Regions from separate parts of the Homo sapiens genome. Here all the other regions are linked to region 2. The links are contacts of gene promoters, found by promoter capture Hi-C in human tissues and cell types (Jung and others, 2019). All regions are on one chromosome and are shown on one strand. The core of a region is centred on a gene start or on the middle of the fragment in contact, and the rest is flanking DNA. Distances in the headings are between cores, read along the strand shown.

Region 1 (2,700 bases), core at 153-2,652, 480 kb before region 2:
ACGGCCAAGCGTGGTGGCTCACGCCTGTAATTCCAGCACTTTGGGAGGCTGAGGCAGGCAAATCATGAGGTCAGGAGATCGAGACCATCCTGGCTAACACGGTGAAACCCCATCTCTACTAAAAATACAGAAAATTAGCCAGGTGTGGTGGTGGACGCCTGTAGTCCCAGCTACTTGGGAGGCTGAGGCAGAAGAATGGCGTGAACCCGGGAGGCAGAGCTGGCAGTGAGCTGAGATTGCGCCAGTGCACTACAGCCTGTGGGACAGAGCAACTCCGTCTCAAAAAAAAAAAAAAAATTAGCTGGGCATGGTGGCACATGCCTGTAATCCCAGCTACTAAGGAGGCTGAGGCGGGAGAATTGCTTGAACCTGGGAGGCAGAGGTTGCAGTGAGCCGAGATTGCGCCATTGCACTCCAGTTTGGACAACAAGAGTGAACTCCGTCTCAAAAAAAAAAAAAAAGATGGTTTGCTTTGCAGCAGGAAATAGGACTCCCTACACACTCACGAACCATCTGGTAACATTCTGTAATAGTCTTCCATGGTTTTGTATTTGACTTGATGTTTTGGGTAATGCTAGAATGCTCGAGTTCTAGAGGCAGCTCAAGAAGACCTGCTACAGTATCACAACAGACATACGATTTTGTAAATGTTTTCCACTTGTAGTTGAGCCCAGTGTTTTCCTGCTGCTTTCTGCCTTCAGACCCACCATGTACCACATGGAACACGCGAGCTCCAGCAGAGGTGCCAGGTCCATCTTGCTCCCCACTGTAACCCTGGAACTGAGAATGGTGCCTCAGACATGGCTGGTGTGCGGCAAACCAAAGTGCCCTCACTTTCAAGAACTGCCCCATAGCCCACAGAATGCCGTGCCACTGGTTACTAACATTCCCCTACGTGGCAGGCTCAGGCTGCCTCCTGACACTTCTTTTTTTCAGAGTCCAGCTGCCGTCCAGGCTCCTGTTCCTCGATTCTCCTTGTGGTTTTTCTCATTTTTCTGGCTCCCTCTGAGCTGCTTCTAGCTAGGATTCAAGCAGGTGAGAGAAGTGAATGGCTGGAAGATTTACTTATGGGGTCAGAGCAACAGCACCTGGTGATGTGCTAGATGGACAGTAACGCCACTTGCCATCAGAGGAGATGCTAGAAAAGGCTCTGGGGAAAGCTTTTTTTTGAGACGGAGTCTCGCTCTGTCGCCCAGGCTGGAGTGCCGTGGCACAATCTCTGCTCACTGCAACCTCCGCCTCCTGGGTTCAAATGATTCTCCTGCCTCAGCCTCCCGAGTAGCTGGGACTACAGGCGCCTGCCACCACACCCGGCTAACTTTTGTATTTTTAGTAGAGATGGGGTTTTACCATATTGGCCAGGCTGGTCCTGAACTCCTGACCTTGTGATCTGCCCACCTCGGCCTCCCAAAGTGCTGGGATTACAGGCGTGAGTGGGAAAGCTTTCTTTTTTTTTGAGACAGAGTCTTGCTTTGGCACCAGGCTGGAGTGCAGTGGCACGATCTCGGCTCACTGCAACCCCCGCCTCCTGGGTTCAAGCGATTCTCCAGCCTCAGCCTCCCGAGTAGCTGGGATTACAGGCATGTGCCACCACACCCAGCTAATTTTTTTATTTTTAGTAGAGACGGGGTTTCACCATGTTGGCCAGGATGGTTTCGATCTCCTGACCTTGCAATCCACCCACCTCAGCCTCCCAAAGTGCTGGGATTACAGGCATGAGCCACTATGCCCGGCCAGGGAAAGCTCTTCTTGTTCAGTTTGGGACATGTTGGGTTTGAGCTGCCTTTACTAGACACACATTGACATGTTAAGCCAACGTGGATAGAGATGACAAAAGATGGCTTTTCTGCCTGTCCTGCAGCCCAGAACCCTCCAGAAGAGTGATGGGAAACCTATGGCTATCTTTATGTCTCATCCACATGGGTCACTGTAGATTCCTGGGTGGCCAAAATGGGTCTTAAGTTTGGGAAACTATTTGCCTGGCTGATGTACGATGCATTTAAAACAAACATTTTGTCCATAATGTACTATGAAGGACACAAGACCTGATTTTCCTCCACGCATGTTTATGTCGACTCATCTAAGAGTAGTCTCCATCTCTGACATGAGGGAGGGATAGAGGTGCAGAGTGTGCCCCTAGGAGTAGCTTTCTTGGGCAGTTTCTGTGAGGGAGAAGGCTAAGTGTTAAGAACAGAACAGCACTGGAAACCAGTTAGAGGCAGAGGAAGCAGCAAATGCAAAGACCCTGAGATAGGAATGAATTGGTCTCCAAAATAATCTGGATGCTGGGCATAGGAGCTCCTGCCTGTGGTCCCAGCTACTTGAGAGGCTGTGGTGGGAGGATCACTTGAGCCCGGGAAGTCAAGGCTGCAATAAGCTGTGATTGTGCCACTAGATTACAGCCTGGGCTACAGAGTGAGGTGTGAGACACTGTCTCAAAAATAAATAATAAAAAATAAAAATAAACAAAATAACTTGGCAGCGGCAGCAGCGTCTGTGAAAAAGGCTTAGGAGCTGAAGAAGTCAGTAAGGATAGAGTAAGTCATTTTTAAGTGGTACCAAGAAAGCGTTAAATAATCTTATATTTTACAGTGAGAAAATACAATTCTCACTCCATCTTTCTGATTTTATTAAGGAGAAAAATCTCAGTTGAGTGCCAGTCCGTCTAACTCCTCACCTCTCTTTTTTACAAAATGAACA
Region 2 (2,700 bases), core at 81-2,580:
GACCAGGCTGGTCTTGATCTCCTGACCTGGTGATCTGCCTGCCTCAGCCTCCCAAAAGTGTTGGGATTACAGGAGTGAGCCCCCGCGCCCTGCCTCTGCGTTTCTTTTCTGTCTATGAAATTATCCCGATTGTTCTGCTCATTGGAACACTGTTTCTGCTTTATAGAATGAGACGTTGCCCAATTCTAGAATAGCAGGTAAAAGTTAATTAAGATCTTTAAACTAAATTTGTTGTAATTTTGTCTTTTGACATGTAATTTTCTGTATATTCGTTATACTTCAATAAAAAGTTAAAAGAAACATAACTAAATTTCTATTTGAAAACAGAAGCTCTTCCTTTTGAAGGATGCCTTGCTGCTCCACTTTCCATTCACATTCACCTCCTGAGAGAGGTGAAGATCTGGGTTGCTAAGATGGAAGAAAGGTCAATTATTTGCATGTTACTCAAGTGATGCACTGACACAATATTCTCACAGTTCTCCCTCCCCCCGCCCCCCCCCACACACCCAAAAGAATTCAGTGTATTAGCTTTGCTTTTTAGTGATTCACTCAAGCTAAAGTAAGAGTTTATGTCTGGTATTACGTTGAGAGCTTTTGGAAGATTATCTTCCAGGTTGTCTTTAGACCATCTTTGTATCTGGTTTTTGCTCTCTTTGCTTTTGCTCTGAGATTCTGCAACACCGATTTATATGTGTTGAGACAGTCTAAAAAATTCCATTTCTCCCCTTCTACAATTCCTGCAGATGTTACTCACTATATGTCTGCAGGAATTGGTGTAATCTTACACTCTGCCTTGAAAACACCTTTCCATTCTTCACAGCTTTGTTCCCAGTTGAATTTCTGGGGAGAATTGAGTTAGGTCTATTCATTTAATTTGGGAGAAACTGACATCTTTACAATTTTTCCTCTTTTCACCCAGGATCATGGTAAGCCTCTCCATTATTTGAAGTCTAATTTCATCCTACTTGGATATGCTTCTTTATGACTCTGTAGCTTTCTACATATAAGTCCTACATCTTTCTTGTTAGAGTTTTTCCTAGTTGCTTTATGTTTTTTTGTTGTTGTTGCGATTGTTGCTATTGTGAATGGAACCTTTTTTTTTTTTCATTCAAAAATGAACCCGTGGAGCGATAGGATCTCTACCACCTCTTTCGGCTGTGAGACTCTATGGTTTTTCAGTTCTATGAGAACATTCTACTGGAGCCTACATTATCTGAACCCAAAGGAAGATGGCAACCACGAGTCGCCAAGTAAAGGACCGCTCTATCTCGCCTTTGTTCTCCTCTCGGTGGTTACTGCGCAGACGTAGTCGCCCAAGTCGCGTCCCCGCCTTCCCGGTCGCGGGCCCAGCTCGGGAGCGCCGGCGCACTGGCGCGCTCCGTTTACACGCTCCGGGGCCTGTAGGCGCCGCGAGTTCCGGCTGTCGCCGTCGCCGCCGCGGCTCCTGGAGGTCGGTTGCGACGAGTAACGGCGCCAGGACGAGCCCTGCGCCTTCTTTTTCGATATGTACCCGAATTGGGGCCGGTATGGCGGGAGCAGCCACTATCCGCCGCCACCGGTCCCACCGCCGCCGCCAGTGGCGCTTCCTGAGGCCTCGCCGGGGCCCGGGTACTCGAGCTCGACGACTCCCGCGGCCCCCTCCTCCTCGGGCTTCATGAGCTTCCGCGAACAGCACTTGGCGCAGCTCCAGCAGCTGCAGCAGATGCACCAGAAGCAAATGCAGTGCGTGCTTCAGCCCCACCACCTTCCTCCGCCCCCTCTGCCGCCCCCGCCAGTGATGCCGGGGGGCGGCTACGGAGACTGGCAGCCGCCACCGCCACCGATGCCCCCGCCACCCGGGCCGGCCCTCAGCTATCAGAAGCAGCAGCAGTACAAACACCAGATGCTCCACCACCAACGAGACGGGCCTCCTGGTTTGGTTCCAATGGAGCTGGAATCCCCCCCTGAATCTCCCCCTGTGCCGCCTGGGTCCTATATGCCCCCATCTCAGTCTTACATGCCCCCACCTCAGCCGCCACCCTCTTACTACCCCCCGACCTCATCTCAGCCCTACCTGCCTCCTGCTCAGCCGTCCCCTTCGCAGTCCCCACCTTCCCAATCCTACCTGGCGCCCACCCCTTCTTACTCATCCTCCTCCTCTTCCTCGCAATCCTATTTGAGCCATTCCCAGTCCTACTTGCCCTCTTCTCAGGCATCTCCTTCCCGCCCCTCCCAGGGCCATTCTAAATCCCAACTACTAGCTCCACCACCACCGTCCGCCCCCCCTGGAAATAAGACAACTGTCCAGCAAGAGCCTTTGGAGAGTGGGGCCAAAAACAAGAGTACTGAACAGCAGCAAGCCGCCCCTGAGCCAGATCCCTCTACGATGACTCCACAGGTAAGAAAGCATCTGCCTGAACCTCATCTTTCACCTAGAGGGCCCTGAATGAGCAGGCCTCAGGGCTTTAACCAGTGGTTAGTCTAATTCCAACACACAATGACTAGCTAACACTCCAAAGGATTCCGTAAGAGTCAGAGGGCTGACAGCTCAGCTTTTTAATTAGCTAGATGTGAATTACCAAAAAAACAGCGTTTGTAGATGTGTATGGATTACATACAGTGGTGGGGTGGCTCAAAAGTTACCTCTCAGATACATTCCTTGGTTTCTTTGACCATCCTCTTAGATTTTGTTGCTGTTGCAAATAGATTTTGTTGCAGAGG
Region 3 (2,700 bases), core at 115-2,614, 320 kb after region 2:
CTAATGGGTTTCATATGTTAAGAAAGAAACCTCCATTTTAGCTGTTAGTAGCACTCTACTTTCAAATCGGTTTGGCTAAATGACTGTTTAGAGGCAGCAAAATCTACCATCAAAGCAAGCTGAGACAGGCTGGTCATGGTGGCTCATTCCTATAATTCCAGCACTTTGGGAGGCTGAAGTGGGAGGATTGCTTGAGGCCAGGAGTTCAAGAGCGGCCTCGACAACAAAGCAAGACCCCATCTCAAAACAAAACAAAGCTGGGACACTGCACAGTGTCACATGCCCTTGGCAATTATAGCATAGTCAACTTCTATTTCAGAGAGTAAACTTTGAAGGGAAAGGGATCAAATCTTTTTAATTTTCTCTGTGTAGAATATTGCCTAGCACAAGTTAGACCTTCAATTAGTGAGGTCTGGAGATTTAAAATTAAACAAGAAGATGAGTGAGTCCTACACTAGTGAAATCAGAGAACTGATAAGTTAATGTCTGCGAGAGTATTATCAGTTCAGATAGGAGTGAAGTTAGCACAACAGATAGAAATCTTAGGATTACTGTTCTGTATTACTCAAATTGTTAGTTTAAAATACTGGAGAAAAACTGCTCAATTTGAGCTAGTCAACAGGGCTAGACAGACAACAAAATCCTATTTTACTAAGTAACAAATGGCCACTCACTCTTGCTCCATTTCCACTGCACTCCAGCCTGGTGACCTAGTGAGACTCCATCTCAAAAAAAAAAAAAAAAAAAAGAAAAAAAAATTGGGCTAACAGATCAGACCAATTTGAAATGTGAGTTAAGGCTTTAGCGGTGAAGCTGCAGGACACAGGCTGGGAAAAAATCCTATATATTTAAATAGGAGCACACATTTCTTTGCACTCTTTTTAATTGTTCCAAAGGAAAGGAGGTATCACATAATAAAGCTTTATGGTTAGCCCCTTAAGGAAACCTCACACAGAGATAATGGATATTTAACCTAATAGGTACATTCCCTAGGCAAGTTCAATGAAATGTACACTTTAAGTGGGAATGTAAACCAGTACATTGCAATAGATGGCAAGAGTAAGCTGTGGCCAAGGTCACAAAATGGCAACATGTGGATTGCTTTGCTCCACAGATGTTTTATTTCGCTGGCCTAGCATTCATAATATGATCTGACATTTAAAAACTGGGATATGGAACATCTCTTGAAAAACTGGAAGTTCTGGAAACACTGGGCCAGCAACCCGCATGGCACAAATTGGGTGGGGTTTAGAATCAGATGCTCCTCCAGATGGGAATGGTAGCACCAGACCACTGCAGTCTCACTTGGCCTGCTTCACTTCTTTACCTTATCTGCCTGGTACCACAGGCACTTGGATTTGGGATCGCTGGATGTTAGTAAGGTCATAGATCCGGGCCCTCCAGAGAGAACAAATTGTTGTTATATGTGGGGAGTGCTTTCTAAAAAGGAAGCAGTTGTTTGCTCTCATTTTGCTAAAGAAATAAAACAATAGTCAATGCCTTAAGTGTTCCCTTTAATCTCTACATGTTTAGGCCTTGGTTATATTAGAAATATCTTTCAAGGCCGAGCATGGTGGCTCATGCCTGTAATCCCAGCACTTTGGGAGGCCGAGGTGGGCGGATCACAAAGTCAAGAGATCGAGACCATCCTGGCCAACATGGTGAAACCCCGTCTCTACTAAAAATACAAAAATTAGCTGGGCGTGGTGGCGCACACCTGTAGTCCCAACTACTCGGGAGGCTGAGGCAGGAGAATTGCTTGAACCCAGGAGGCAGAGGTTGCAGTGAGCTGAGATCGCGCCACTGCACTCCAGCCTGGTGACCTAGTAAGAATCCATCTCAAAAAAAAAAAAAGAAAAAAAAAAAAGAAATATCTTTCATCTTTTAAATTTATCTTGATCTGGTCTCTGGGAAGAGATAAGAACCTTTTTTTAAAAAAATCTGAATTTCTTCCTGGATAGCTCAGACGATGACAGTAAATGCATGCTGCTTCTTAATGTCTGTATTTTATACAACTTTATCCAAGAAATGTTTAGTGCAAGTAAACATTATAAAGTTCATAAGGTTACACCATAGGAGAAATTTCACGGGGAAACTCCTCATGTGGAAACTCATTTCATTAAAAATGTATGCAGATGTGCCGAGACAGTATTTCTTTTTTTTTTTTTTTGAGACGGAGTCTCGCTCTTGTCACCCAGGCTGGAGTGCAGTGGAGTGATCTTGGCCCACTGCAAGCTCCGCCTCCCGGGTTCACGCCATTCTTCTGCCCCAGCCTCCCGAGTAGCTGGGACTACAGGCGCCCACCACCACGCCCGGCTGATTTTTTGTATTTTTAGTAGAGATGGGGTTTCACTGTGTTAGCCAGGATGGTCTTGAACTCCTGACCTGCCCACCTCGGCCTCCCAAAGTGCTGGGATTACAGGCGTGAGCCACCGCGCCTGTCCTGCCAAGACAGTATTTTTTTTTTTATTTTTGAGATGGAGTCTCACTCTGTCGCCCAGGCTGGAGTACCGTGGCGCAATCTCAGCTCACTGCAAACTCCGCCTCCTGGGTTCACGCCATTCTCCTGCCTCAGCCTCCAGAGTAGCTGGGACTACAGGCACCTGCCACAACACCCAGCTAATTTTTTTGTATTTTTAGTAGAGACGGGATTTCACTGTGTTAGCCAGGATGGTCTCGATCTCCTGACCTCGTGATCCG

The links. Contacts are between HindIII fragments. The study calls those that stand out against the background at their distance.
Region 1: a fragment that was not itself captured here is called in contact with the fragment with the promoter of YLPM1 in region 2 in 1 of the 25 tissues and cell types used here (liver).
Region 3: a fragment that was not itself captured here is called in contact with the fragment with the promoter of YLPM1 in region 2 in 2 of the 25 tissues and cell types used here (dorsolateral prefrontal cortex and lymphoblastoid cells).

Annotation. Positions count from the first base shown.
Region 1 is chr14:74,282,664-74,285,363 of GRCh38, forward strand. It overlaps ABCD4 (ATP binding cassette subfamily D member 4), which reads right to left. Exons shown (of 19, transcript NM_005050.4): 19 at 2,606-2,700. Among named protein-coding and RNA genes, the nearest start is that of ABCD4, 19 kb to the right of the region's middle. The HindIII fragment of the contact is 3,233 bases long and covers 1-2,700 here.
Region 2 is chr14:74,761,986-74,764,685 of GRCh38, forward strand. YLPM1 (YLP motif containing 1) reads left to right here and starts at 1,331. Exons shown (of 21, transcript NM_019589.3): 1 at 1,331-2,377. The coding sequence starts at 1,505. RefSeq lists an enhancer at 1,039-1,378. The HindIII fragment of the contact is 19,465 bases long and covers 1-2,700 here.
Region 3 is chr14:75,078,488-75,081,187 of GRCh38, forward strand. It overlaps ZC2HC1C (zinc finger C2HC-type containing 1C), which reads left to right. Exons shown (of 3, transcript NM_024643.4): 3 at 1-1,501. It overlaps NEK9 (NIMA related kinase 9), which reads right to left. Exons shown (of 22, transcript NM_033116.6): 22 at 866-2,700. Among named protein-coding and RNA genes, the nearest start is that of ZC2HC1C, 10 kb to the left of the region's middle. The HindIII fragment of the contact is 7,451 bases long and covers 1-2,700 here.